2 separate regions of the Homo sapiens genome follow, and region 2 is linked to region 1. Evidence: promoter capture Hi-C in 16 types of primary human blood cells and fetal thymus (Javierre and others, 2016). All regions are on one chromosome and are shown on one strand. Each heading gives the region's core, a stretch centred on a gene start or on the middle of the fragment in contact. The rest is flanking DNA. Distances are from core to core; before and after follow the strand shown.

What was found. The method cuts DNA at HindIII sites, captures the fragments that hold promoters and counts their contacts. A CHiCAGO score of 5 or more calls a contact.
Region 2: a fragment that was not itself captured here is called in contact with the fragment with the promoter of CBLIF in region 1 in 5 of 17 cell types (M2 macrophages, M0 macrophages, M1 macrophages and 2 more); the score reaches 10.6 in M2 macrophages.

Annotation. Positions count from the first base shown.
Region 1 is chr11:59,842,540-59,847,820 of GRCh38, forward strand. It overlaps CBLIF (cobalamin binding intrinsic factor), which reads right to left and starts at 2,960. Exons shown (of 9, transcript NM_005142.3): 1 at 2,836-2,960; 2 at 1,340-1,516; 3 at 489-602; 4 at 1-44. The coding sequence starts at 2,914. The HindIII fragment of the contact is 3,325 bases long and covers 275-3,599 here.
Region 2 is chr11:60,123,576-60,128,856 of GRCh38, forward strand. No RefSeq gene overlaps it. Among named protein-coding and RNA genes, the nearest start is that of MS4A2, 38 kb to the left of the region's middle. The HindIII fragment of the contact is 1,665 bases long and covers 1,269-2,933 here.

The DNA of each region.
Region 1 (5,281 bases), core at 1,710-4,209:
CGCTAGACTGGGCCCATAGAAGGCTGATGCTTCAGCGTTGGGGCCTCCGAAGGGGATAGAGAACCTTCATCAGACTCACAGTCACCACGATGAGGACATTTGCAAAGAAGGAAAAGCCAAGCCTTTGAAAAGGAAATTGCTAGAAAACCTGCCCCCAAAGAGAGACACAGCATAGGCAAAGAGCAACTTCAGTGTTTTTCAAAAGAATGTCATCAGGCATCTGCAAAGAATAAAAGGGATGACTCTGTGTCTTTAGACAGGTGATGGCTGGACAAGCTTGTGTCCTTGGGATCATGACCTTTTCTAGTTCATTTTGGATTGGAAATGAATCTTTCTGGTCTGGATTATCAGAAGGACCAGAGTGAAGGATACATTGTCTCTTCCCTAACTTGCCTTTCTCTCCACCCCCACCCTTTTCCTTTCTGGGTTTAAAATTCTTAGGTAAAACCATATGCCTGACTCTTTTCTCCCTTCCAGTCAGGTCTTACTGGAAGGTGCCCAGTTCTCCATTTGTCTTTGTAGAATGGATACTTTATCCCCAGGGTCTCGGCAGGAGGAGGTGAGGGCCATGATGGTGAGGCCGAGCTGCCCAATGGTTAGATCTGCAGAGAAGAGAACACAACGGTTAGACAGAGACATCCTCAGGGGACAGCTCTCCAGGAGCCAGTGATGAGTTCTCTGCTTTTTATCTAGAGCATTTTGACTTTTTAATAATATGAGCAGTTCTTTGATCTGTCTTTCCAAAGAAAAAAATATGGAAGAATACGTAAGGGAATATTTAATCTAGTGGCCTCTGTGTAACTTGATGACTCTAGTATTTGGTATTTGAGAATCCCTGGTATTTGATTAGAAAAGCAGCAAAATACTCATATAGATTTATATACAGAAATTTACAGTTGCAAAATAATTTAAACTTTATCTAACTTGAGCCTGCAGGCAGCTCCTGGGAGATAGGCAGAACAGAGATTTTATTATTATTATCATTGCTATTAGTAGTAGTAGGGTTATTGTTACTACAATCATCTGCAAGGTGAGGCTGAGCAGTATCCAGTGACTTGTCTCAGATCCCAGAGTTATGACGTGGCAGAGCCAGAACCAGAAGGCTGCTCTTTCGACGTCTAGTCCAGAGCTCTCCCTGCTTTACTGACCTCCTCCATGAATGCTCTGACTTCACACATGTTTCTTTCCAGGTACCTTCCAGGTATGTAAGGAAAGGTGTTTGGGTAGTTTATTTACAGTCAGAGGCAGCATTGGGGTGGGAAGGACGCTGAGTTGGAATCTGGAGGTGGTATGTGATGTGTGAGATTCAGGGAGAGTGCGAGCGGCTCAGATGTCTCACCGTTGTTGTCGCTGGACATGAGCTGGTAAGTCAGGAGCTTCTGGGCCTTCAAGTTGTAGGCTCCGGCCAGATTCATGGCAATCAGGATGCTGGGGTTTGGGTAGGCTGATGAAGTCACCGAGTTCTCCATGAGTACTTGTATTCCATTGACCAAGGGCTCCTGTGCTGAGGGAACGGCTGAGAAGAGGAAAGCCATTTACTCACCTTCTAACCCTCATTCCTTCTCAAAAACATTATCCCCGTGTCTTTGATGCTTTTTCTTTCTTTCTTTTTTTTTTGAGACAGTGTTACTCTTGTTGCCCAGGCTAGAGTGCAATGGCACGATCTCGGCTCACTGCAAACTCTGCCTCCCAGGTTCAAGTGATTCTCCTGCCTCAGCTTCCTGAGTAGCTGGGATTACAGGTGTGCACCACCACGCCAGGCTAATTTTTGTATTTTTAGTAGAGATGGGGTTTCACCATGTTGGCCAGGGTAGTCTCGAATTTCTGACCTCAGGTAATCCACCCTTCTTGGCCTCCCAAAGTGCTGGGATTACAGGCGTGAGCCACCTCGCCTGGCCATCTTTGATGCCTTTTAGGAGAACACTTGATTAGCATTAGTGTCCTAAGTCACTAAAGAGAAATGGAGAAAATGGTGAGATTTTACTTTTGAGGACAATTAGTTTCTACATCTTCTCAAATAATCCATATCCTTAAGAAAGTGATTTTTAAATTTAGTAACTTCAAGCAATATGGCTCATGACATTTCTCATAGTTTCTATCACTTTCCTGGAAATCACTGATTTCCTTGCATTCATTTTTTTCCTTACTCTTTCATGAAGAGTATTAAAGATTTGGGATATAATTTATCCTCAGTGAGTACCAAAATCTCTCACTAGTATGTAGTGGTGTCTGGTCACAATAGCCACTGAGTGTCTGTCTTTGTACCATCAACCATTATTCCTGCAGTAGTACTTCCATCTCTATTATTTTTATTTATTGATTTTTTGAGACAGGGTGCTGCTGTGTCATCTAGGCTGGAGTGCAGTGGTGTGATTATAGCTCACTGCAGCCTCGACCTCCTGGGCTCAAGCGATTCTCCTACCTCAGCTTTCTGAGTAGCTGGGACCACAGGTGCATGCCACTGCGCCCAGCTAATTTTTTATTTTTATTTATTTATTTTTTTTGTAGAGATGGAGTCTCACCATGTTGCCCAGGCTGGTCTTGAACTCTTGGGCTCAAGCAATCCTCCTGCTTCAGTCTCCCAAAGTGCTGGGATTACAGGTGTGAGCCACTGCACCTGGCCCCATCTCTCTTAATAAAAAACATATAGACTTGTCTCTCAAAGAACTTATGCTATTAAGTCAGGAAGGATGAACAGCACACAATCACACTCAGACTTACCCATTTTGGAATTCCTATAGTGATTGCTATTTTCAACCACTCAGTGTCAGAGGTCACAGCCCCTTCCCCAGGGCAACTGCTTCCCTGACCTCCTTGGAAAAACATCATACTCACAGCATGAACTCTGGGTCTGGGTACTAGTCCCAGCTGTAGCCCAGAGAAGGCTCAGGAGGTAGAGGGCAAACCAGGCCATCTCACTCTCTCGTCTATGTCTCTCATCCACAGGTACCGCGATTTGCAAGTGGAATATTTCTTTACCTTCTCTTATATGTGCTTCCCTTTGTTAAATAATCTGTCCCCAACCCAGCCTCTCCTAACTGCCCCTGTGCTGACCTCTCCTTTCCTGATACAAGTAAGTAAATTTTCATTTGCTTATCTAAGTTTACCGACTATAGACCCTCCAAGGTGTCTGAAGGTGACTTCTAGGTTGCACAGTCATATGAGAAACCTGGGGCTGGGTATGCAGTGAAGGCAATGTTGAGAAAATGTCCTTTACCAAAGGCCTGGGTCAGACATCAGGAAGTTTGGATAATGTGCTAGTATCAACAAGACCTCTTCTAGCCCTTATTGTATCCAATCAGTTACCAGGCTGCTTTTTAGTAACTACTTCACTGGGATTTAGGCCATTCATAGGCATCAGCTCATTTTATGATCCTAGACACCTGCTTTACAACATGTCCTTTTAGGCTCTCAGGCAGGGATCTGCCAGGTGACATCTGGCTTTGTGAAATTAATGATGTCTACCTGGACCTGGATTCTAGCCTAGACTCTTTGAAGTTGTTTGACTTTAGGCAAGAAATGGACCTCGGTTTCCCAGAAATGGTTTTGTTTGATTTCTCTTTCCTTATCTGGAGATAAAAGCCATCTCAAACACCCAAAGCTTTCAGATATTATCTTTTAAAGTAAGTAATTAGAAAATGTGAGATCCATTAAGAATACATATTTCAGATGTGTAGCTACATTATAATGCAAATTATACTTCTTTATAAGGGAGAACTGAAAATGGTATGTTGAAATTATAAAGAAAGGAGTTTTGTTTGTTTTTTTCCTGCATGTAAAGTAGCTCATTTTAAGGGGATATTCTCCAGTGGCGCCCATCTTAGCATAAAAGTCAAAGCCCTTTTCATGACCTATAAGACCTTAGAAGATCTGGCTCCTGGTTTCCTTTCTGACCTCAGCTCCAGGCGTTTTCCCCTTTGCTCACACCGCTCCCATCACACAGAACTTCTTGTGCCCCTTGAACACATCAGCTACCTTTGCACATGATGTCCCCCTCAGCCCAGGACCCTCTTCTTTTAAATAGCCTCATGGTGGCTTCCTCACATCCTTCATGTCTCTGCTCAGAGGTAAGCTTTTAGAGACGCCTTCCCAGGCCACCCTACATAAGATCCTACATCCTCACCTCCACTGACACCCCTCATGCCCCTCGCCTGCTATAACTCATTGCCCTCTGTCGCACTAAGTGTGTGGTTGTTTATCGTTTGTTTATCTCCCTACTAGAATGTCTGCTCCACGAGGGAGGGGCTTTGTCTCTTTGGCTCACTGCTCTATCCTTAGCCCTTACAACACTACCTAGCTCACAGTAGAAATAAAATACTTTTTGAATGAGTGAATTAATGAGCAAATGTAAGACATGGGTAATAAAGCATTTTTTCCCCCTTGGGAAACATGGGTGAGTTTTGTGAGATGAGAGCACAGGGTACATACTGGGGTGTGCTGGACAACTTCTAACATGGCCCTGTGTTTTCACCTCCCGGTATTCATGCCTTGTGTAGTCCTCTTCCCTAGAGTGTGGGCTGGCCTGGGGCCACATTCTATTATAATGAATATAATGCAGCAAAGGTGATGGGATGTGGTTGCAAAAGACCGATTTCCCTCTTGCTTGCCTTCTCTCTCTTGCCCTTCCTGCTCTCATGAAGGCAGCTGCTAAGTGTGAGCTGCCTTATGGAGAAGCCCACATATGGCCCCTGAGAGTAGCCTCCAGCCGATATTCAGGGAGAAAAGAACCCTTCCCCAGTGAGCTTTGAGATGAAGGCAGCCCCAGCTGACATCTTGATTGCAGCCCTGGGAGAGACCCTCCTAAGCCAGAGGACCCATGTAAACCCTCCCTGGACTCCTGACCCACAGAAACTGTGGGATAATAAATGTTGTCTTAGGCCCCTAAGTTTTAAAGTCACTTGTTATGCAGCAATATATATCCAATACATGGTACATGGTGGAAGATGAGGCTGGAAAGACAGTTGGCATCTACTTGGTGGACAGCCTTGCATGCTGTGTGAAGGAGTAGGAGGCAGAATAATGGCACTGCCCACACACCGCCAAATGCCCATGCCCTAATCCCTGGAACTTGTGAACATGTTACGTGGGTTATATGGCCAGGAAGAATTAAAGATGCACATGGAATTAAGGTGGCTAATGAGCTGACTTTAAGAGAGGAAGGTTAGCTTGGATCATCTGGGTGGGCTCAATGTCATCACAGAGGTCCTTGTTAGTGGCAGAGGAAGGCAAGAGCGTTAGAATCAGAAAAGCAAATGTGATGTTAGAGGCAGAAGTCAGAATG
Region 2 (5,281 bases), core at 851-3,350, 280 kb after region 1:
ATGGCCAACCTGGGGATTCACTCCTTATCCATGAAGAACCTCCAAACTCCAGGCCCATTGCTTGGAATCAGGCAATACAGGGGATTGAGGCCCTTTGTTTTGGGTTAAATGGAGATTGGCAGGTGGAGGTTGGCAGATGGAGGTGGCTAAGTGAAAATATAATATATCCTGCATGGTTTTCACACATGGGAGCAGTTTTCCTGTCCAACTCACTGCTCCTGGACTACCCCGTATGTAAGTCCCCAATGATCCCTACGTCTTGTTCACAGGCTCCAGGTCTCTTCCTCAGCCTCTTGGACATGGTGCCATTCCTATTGGAGTCAACAGGCGTTCAGTACAACACATGGGAACAGAAATGTTTATAAGTAGAATGAAATAAAATATTACCCTGTAATAAAATAAAAGGCCACATGTGTGGTTATAAATATAGTTTGGTTGACAGATAGGATAATGGAAAAAATGAGTTAGTTCTCATTTTACAGAAAAACTGTTGCCATTGCCTTTTTTTCCATAAAATACTACATATTGAGTAGTTGAGAATGTGGGTAGGGGAAAGAAGTGTCTTAAAATTGAATAAAGATTAAAATATGAAAGATTCCTCCTAGAGAGTCAGAATTTTATTTACTAGGGAAGTGTATCCAGATTTCCTAGCACCAAGTGTCTATTTACTATTTGTGGCTACAGCTACAAATGCTTTCTCACCTGCCTTTGAAGAAAATAAAACTATTTTACCCCAATTTATACTTCTTTGATGTATTTTGAGATGTCTGTTCAGAGAGCCAGCAAACAGAAGTAGCCCTGAAAAGCTGTCTTTTGAGGGAGGGGATCTGCAACTGCAGAGAAAATCTACATTAATGCAGCCAGGTTTTATTTGAGGCCAGCCCTTGTGCAAATCCAGAAAAGATTAACTGATAGATAGGCTGATATCTTTAAAGGTCTGAAAAAAAGATTTACTACCTGTTTTCTCTGAGGGCTACTACCTGTGAAGTTTCATCTACATAACAAGACCAACTTTGCTAGTCAGGCCTCCTCTTTTTCCTCTTTTCTCCCATAACCTGTGTTACCACCATAACCTGCTTTGTCATGTATGTATACTGGGCAGTGACATTTTGAAAATTATCTGGGCAGTGAACTTAATTCAAATTAATTGGGACAACAATTTAGATTTCAAGAAAAATTAAGTTGGAAATTATAGGAGATCGGTCAGGGTGGCGGGAAAAATTATAGAAAGAAGCAAATCTTCTTGGAAGGCCAGGAGGTTTTGCAAAAGCTTGGGGAAAGGATATAGCTGAAGGCAGCTGAATTCTCTCGGAGTAGATAACAAGGAAGCACAATGGAATTGATATAGATAAGTTAGTTTACTTAGGCCTTGGAACCTGGCCTTTAATTATCTGCGTGCAGGACTGCTCTCCCCAGGGGTGGGGAGGGGGGCCCAACCGTGTTAATTACTCAAGGCCTTTGTGATTAAATCTGTACTGAATAAATGCCCCCAAAGCTAGCTTGTCGAGGCTGCGGCTGCTGACTCTTTATGGCACCCTCCTCAGGGTCTTTGAGCAGCCCAGTCCCCTAGCCATGCAGCCAGGCAAGAAACCTGTGTCTGGCATACTCCATTCATCCGTCGCTCAGTCAGGGTCTGAGGGTCAGACACGGCAGGAAATCACAGGAAACTATTTTTAAGATAGATTGCTGTTTTACATACTTCTTCCAAAATAGTACCAAGTAGAAAGAACAACTCGAACTGTTTTTCCTCTGCTCTCACACCAGAGACACAACATATAGACTTCTGCGACCAAACGTGTGGGGATTTCTCCCCACCAAAAAGGCAAGCAATCATTTCTGGAGTGAACACCAGCTGGCTGTCCTTCAATTCTGTTGAGACATCATCTAAACTGGAGATAATATCAGATTCCATGGTTTGAGGGCTCAGTCTCACAAGACTTTTTCCCATTTCCAATGCCAATCAGAAGCCCTGGGTTATTTTGCCTGTACTTCTGACTGACCCACTATAAATCAGGGATCCCATGCCCCCAGTCTTGGACTTAACTAATTTGCTGGAGCACCTCACAGATCTCAGGGAAACATGTTTATCAGTGTATTATAAAGGAAATAATAAAGGATACTGTTGACCTAAACAAAGAAACCAAGACAAAATTAATATAGGTAGAGAGTTTATTTTGACTAAGGTTGAGGACTGAAGCCCAGCAAACACTGGGAAGTGCTCCTGAGATCAAAGAAAAGGCTCAAGTTTTTGAAGAAAAAAGGTAGAATTAGGGGAGATGATTACAAAAGTTCTCTTTTCAGAAATTTGTGTTGGTTTACAGAGATAACTTGATTCATGATTGGCTATAAGGTTCGACTTATGCTGCCAGCATATGGCATCATTATGTTAATTGAGTCTAGAGTCCTTATAGCAGGTGGCTTAGAAATGATTACTTAGCTCAAGGAGGAGAGGGTGGGACATGACTGTAATCTAATTTCAATGTCTCTCTGGGCCTGATAATTTAAAAGGGAGATTGCATTTCACAATAAAAAGTTTAGTTTCTTTTGCAATACAAACAAAGAACCAGGTGAAGAGGTATATAGGGCAAGGTCCAGAAGGGTCCCAAGCACAGGAGCTTCTGTCCTCATGGAATGTGCTAAACTTCCTGCACATCAATGAGTTCTTGTTCATCTTCTTGTAAGCCTATGTATTACCTGGAAACCCTCCAAAACCTGTCCTTTTGGGTTTTATGAAGGCTTTATTATATAGGCATGACTAATTGAACCATTGGTCATTAGTGATTAACTGAATTTTCAGCCCCTCTTCCCCTTCCTGGAAGTTGAGGGTTGAGACAAAAAAATCCAACCCTCTGGGCACAATGAATCATTCCCCTGGGAATCAGCCCTCCAACCAGTTGTTTCTAGGGCTTTCTAAAAATTGTCTTATTAACATAAGCTTAGGAGTATTTTATTTTATGTATTTATTTTTTCTTTTTAAAAAACTTTTTATTAAAAAAAGTTTAAACCTTTAGAAAAGTTACAAAAATTGTAAAATGAACTCTCATATGCCTTTACCTAGATTCATCAACTTTTTCTTTTTCTTTCACAATTTTTTTTATTATTATACTTTAAGTTCTGGGGTACATGTGCACAACATGCAGGTTTGTTACATATGTATACATGTGCCATGTTGGTGTGCTGCACCCGTTAACTTGTTTATTTACATTGGGTATATCTCTAGCTTAGGAGTATTTTAAAGCACTTGTTGTAAATAACAAAAGACTGTCTTTCAACTTTATCTTTTAGGAGTGACTTCAGGAACCAAGGATAATCAAATACTTTAACAAAAGATATTCTTACTGCTTTAGTACTTGGGGCATGAGAAGTCTTATAGGAATCTTCCTAGTTGAAAACTAGGAGTCACGGATGGACAAAAACAAATTATATCTATCGTAACATCATAGATACTTATAAACATAAAAAGAAAATAATATTTCTGAGAGCCCAATATGAGGCAACCCCATTGAATGACTTATATATGTTAGCAGGTTTGATACTAACAACGCTTTTATTTTTGTAATTGCCCACTGCACAGCTACAGCCGATTCGTAGACAGCAGTATTACAGTAAAGATTTTAATAAATACAGAGCTAGCCAAATGGAAGGACAGGGGTTTATTACTCAAATCAGCCTCCTTGAAAGCTTGGGGGCTAGAGTTTTTCAAGGATAGTTTGGTTTGTAAGGGGCTAGGAGATGGGTAATGCTGATTGGTTGGGGATGATATCATAGGGGTTTGAAAAATAGTTCCTGTGTGCAGAGTCAGCCTCTGGGTGGGGACCACAGGATCAGTTGAGTCATGAGTCATGAGTCCAGGTGGAGTTAGTAGGTCATCGTCATCAGAATGCAAAAGTCTGAAAAACATCTCAAAAGACCCATGTTAGGTTCTACAATAGTGATATTATCTATAGGAGAAATTGGAGAAGTTGCAAATCTTGTGACCTCCAGAACAACGGCTGGTTATTATCTAGGTTTGCCTACATTTTAGCAGAATTCAGGCCTCTCCCATAATCCTAATCTTTCATTAGTTTTACAAAGGCAGTTTTGTCTCTGAGCAAGGAGATTTGTTTTACAGAGGCACTATTATCATTTTTGCTTCAACGTTAAACTATAACCTAATTCCTCCCATGGTTAGCTTGGCCTACACCCAGAAATGACCAAGGGCAGCCAATGTATGAGTCTAAAAGCAAGAAGAAATCAGCCATGCTAGACTTCTCTCACTGTCATAGTCTTTGCAAAGGGAGTTTCATTCTTAAAAACTATAAAAAAATCCAGAGATGATTTCTTTAATAAGTATTAGAGCTACAATTTAAAATCTAGCACCTCTGAATGGAGTGTCTACATTGTTTTTGCTGTTATCACACTGGTACCAATAAGAAAAATATATAATATAATTGAAATATAAAACATTTTGAAAGACTTGTCTGCTGAGACTTCCTTCCTCGAAGACTGTAAGACCTTGCTATAGATCAGGAGTTTATTACTCAGATCAGCCTCCTTGAAAGCTTGGGGGCTGGAATTTTTCAAGGATAGTTTGGTTTGTTTTTTACAATATGTTTTTTTTTTTACAATATGGTTCCAGAAGCATGAAGACTTAACTGCCTCTCTAACGGCTCTTAGGGTGTTTACAGCTCACTGAATTAAATCTGATTGTCTGGTTAATGTTGGAGCTCAGAAGCTAATAACTCAAATTATGGCACTTTAACTTGCTGAACTGAAGAAACCTCAAGGTCTTTCTGACCTTCCCCGGGCTTCCATCATCTCTCCCAAAGAAGTTGAAGTGCCTTTATCTGCCTAAATTCCAGATCCACCAAGAAGAACAATTGGTTTTTTCTTTGCTTTTCTGTAAAACCAAAAATGTAACAACGCCTGAATAGACCCTTTCACTGTCAAAGAGAGTTATTTAAAAGTTAATCTGTTCCCAGGGATCCTTTTATTCTTCCTAGTAATATCCTCAATACAATTCCTCTTCTCTCCCCTCCCATAACCTTTCTGGCCAGCATAATGTAGTGGCATCATTGTCTGGGGTAACACCCAAGGTTTGTTGTCCCACGTCATTTAAAGCTAGGAGGCAGACACATCAGAGTGAGGTTAAGCATAGAAATTTAATTTTTTTTCTTTTTCTTTCTTTCTTTTCTTTTTTTTTTTTTTTTTGAGATGGAGTCTCACTCTGTCACCTGGGCTGCAGCGCAATGGCATGATCTTGGCTCACTGCAACCTCTGCCTCGCAGGTTCAAGCAATTCT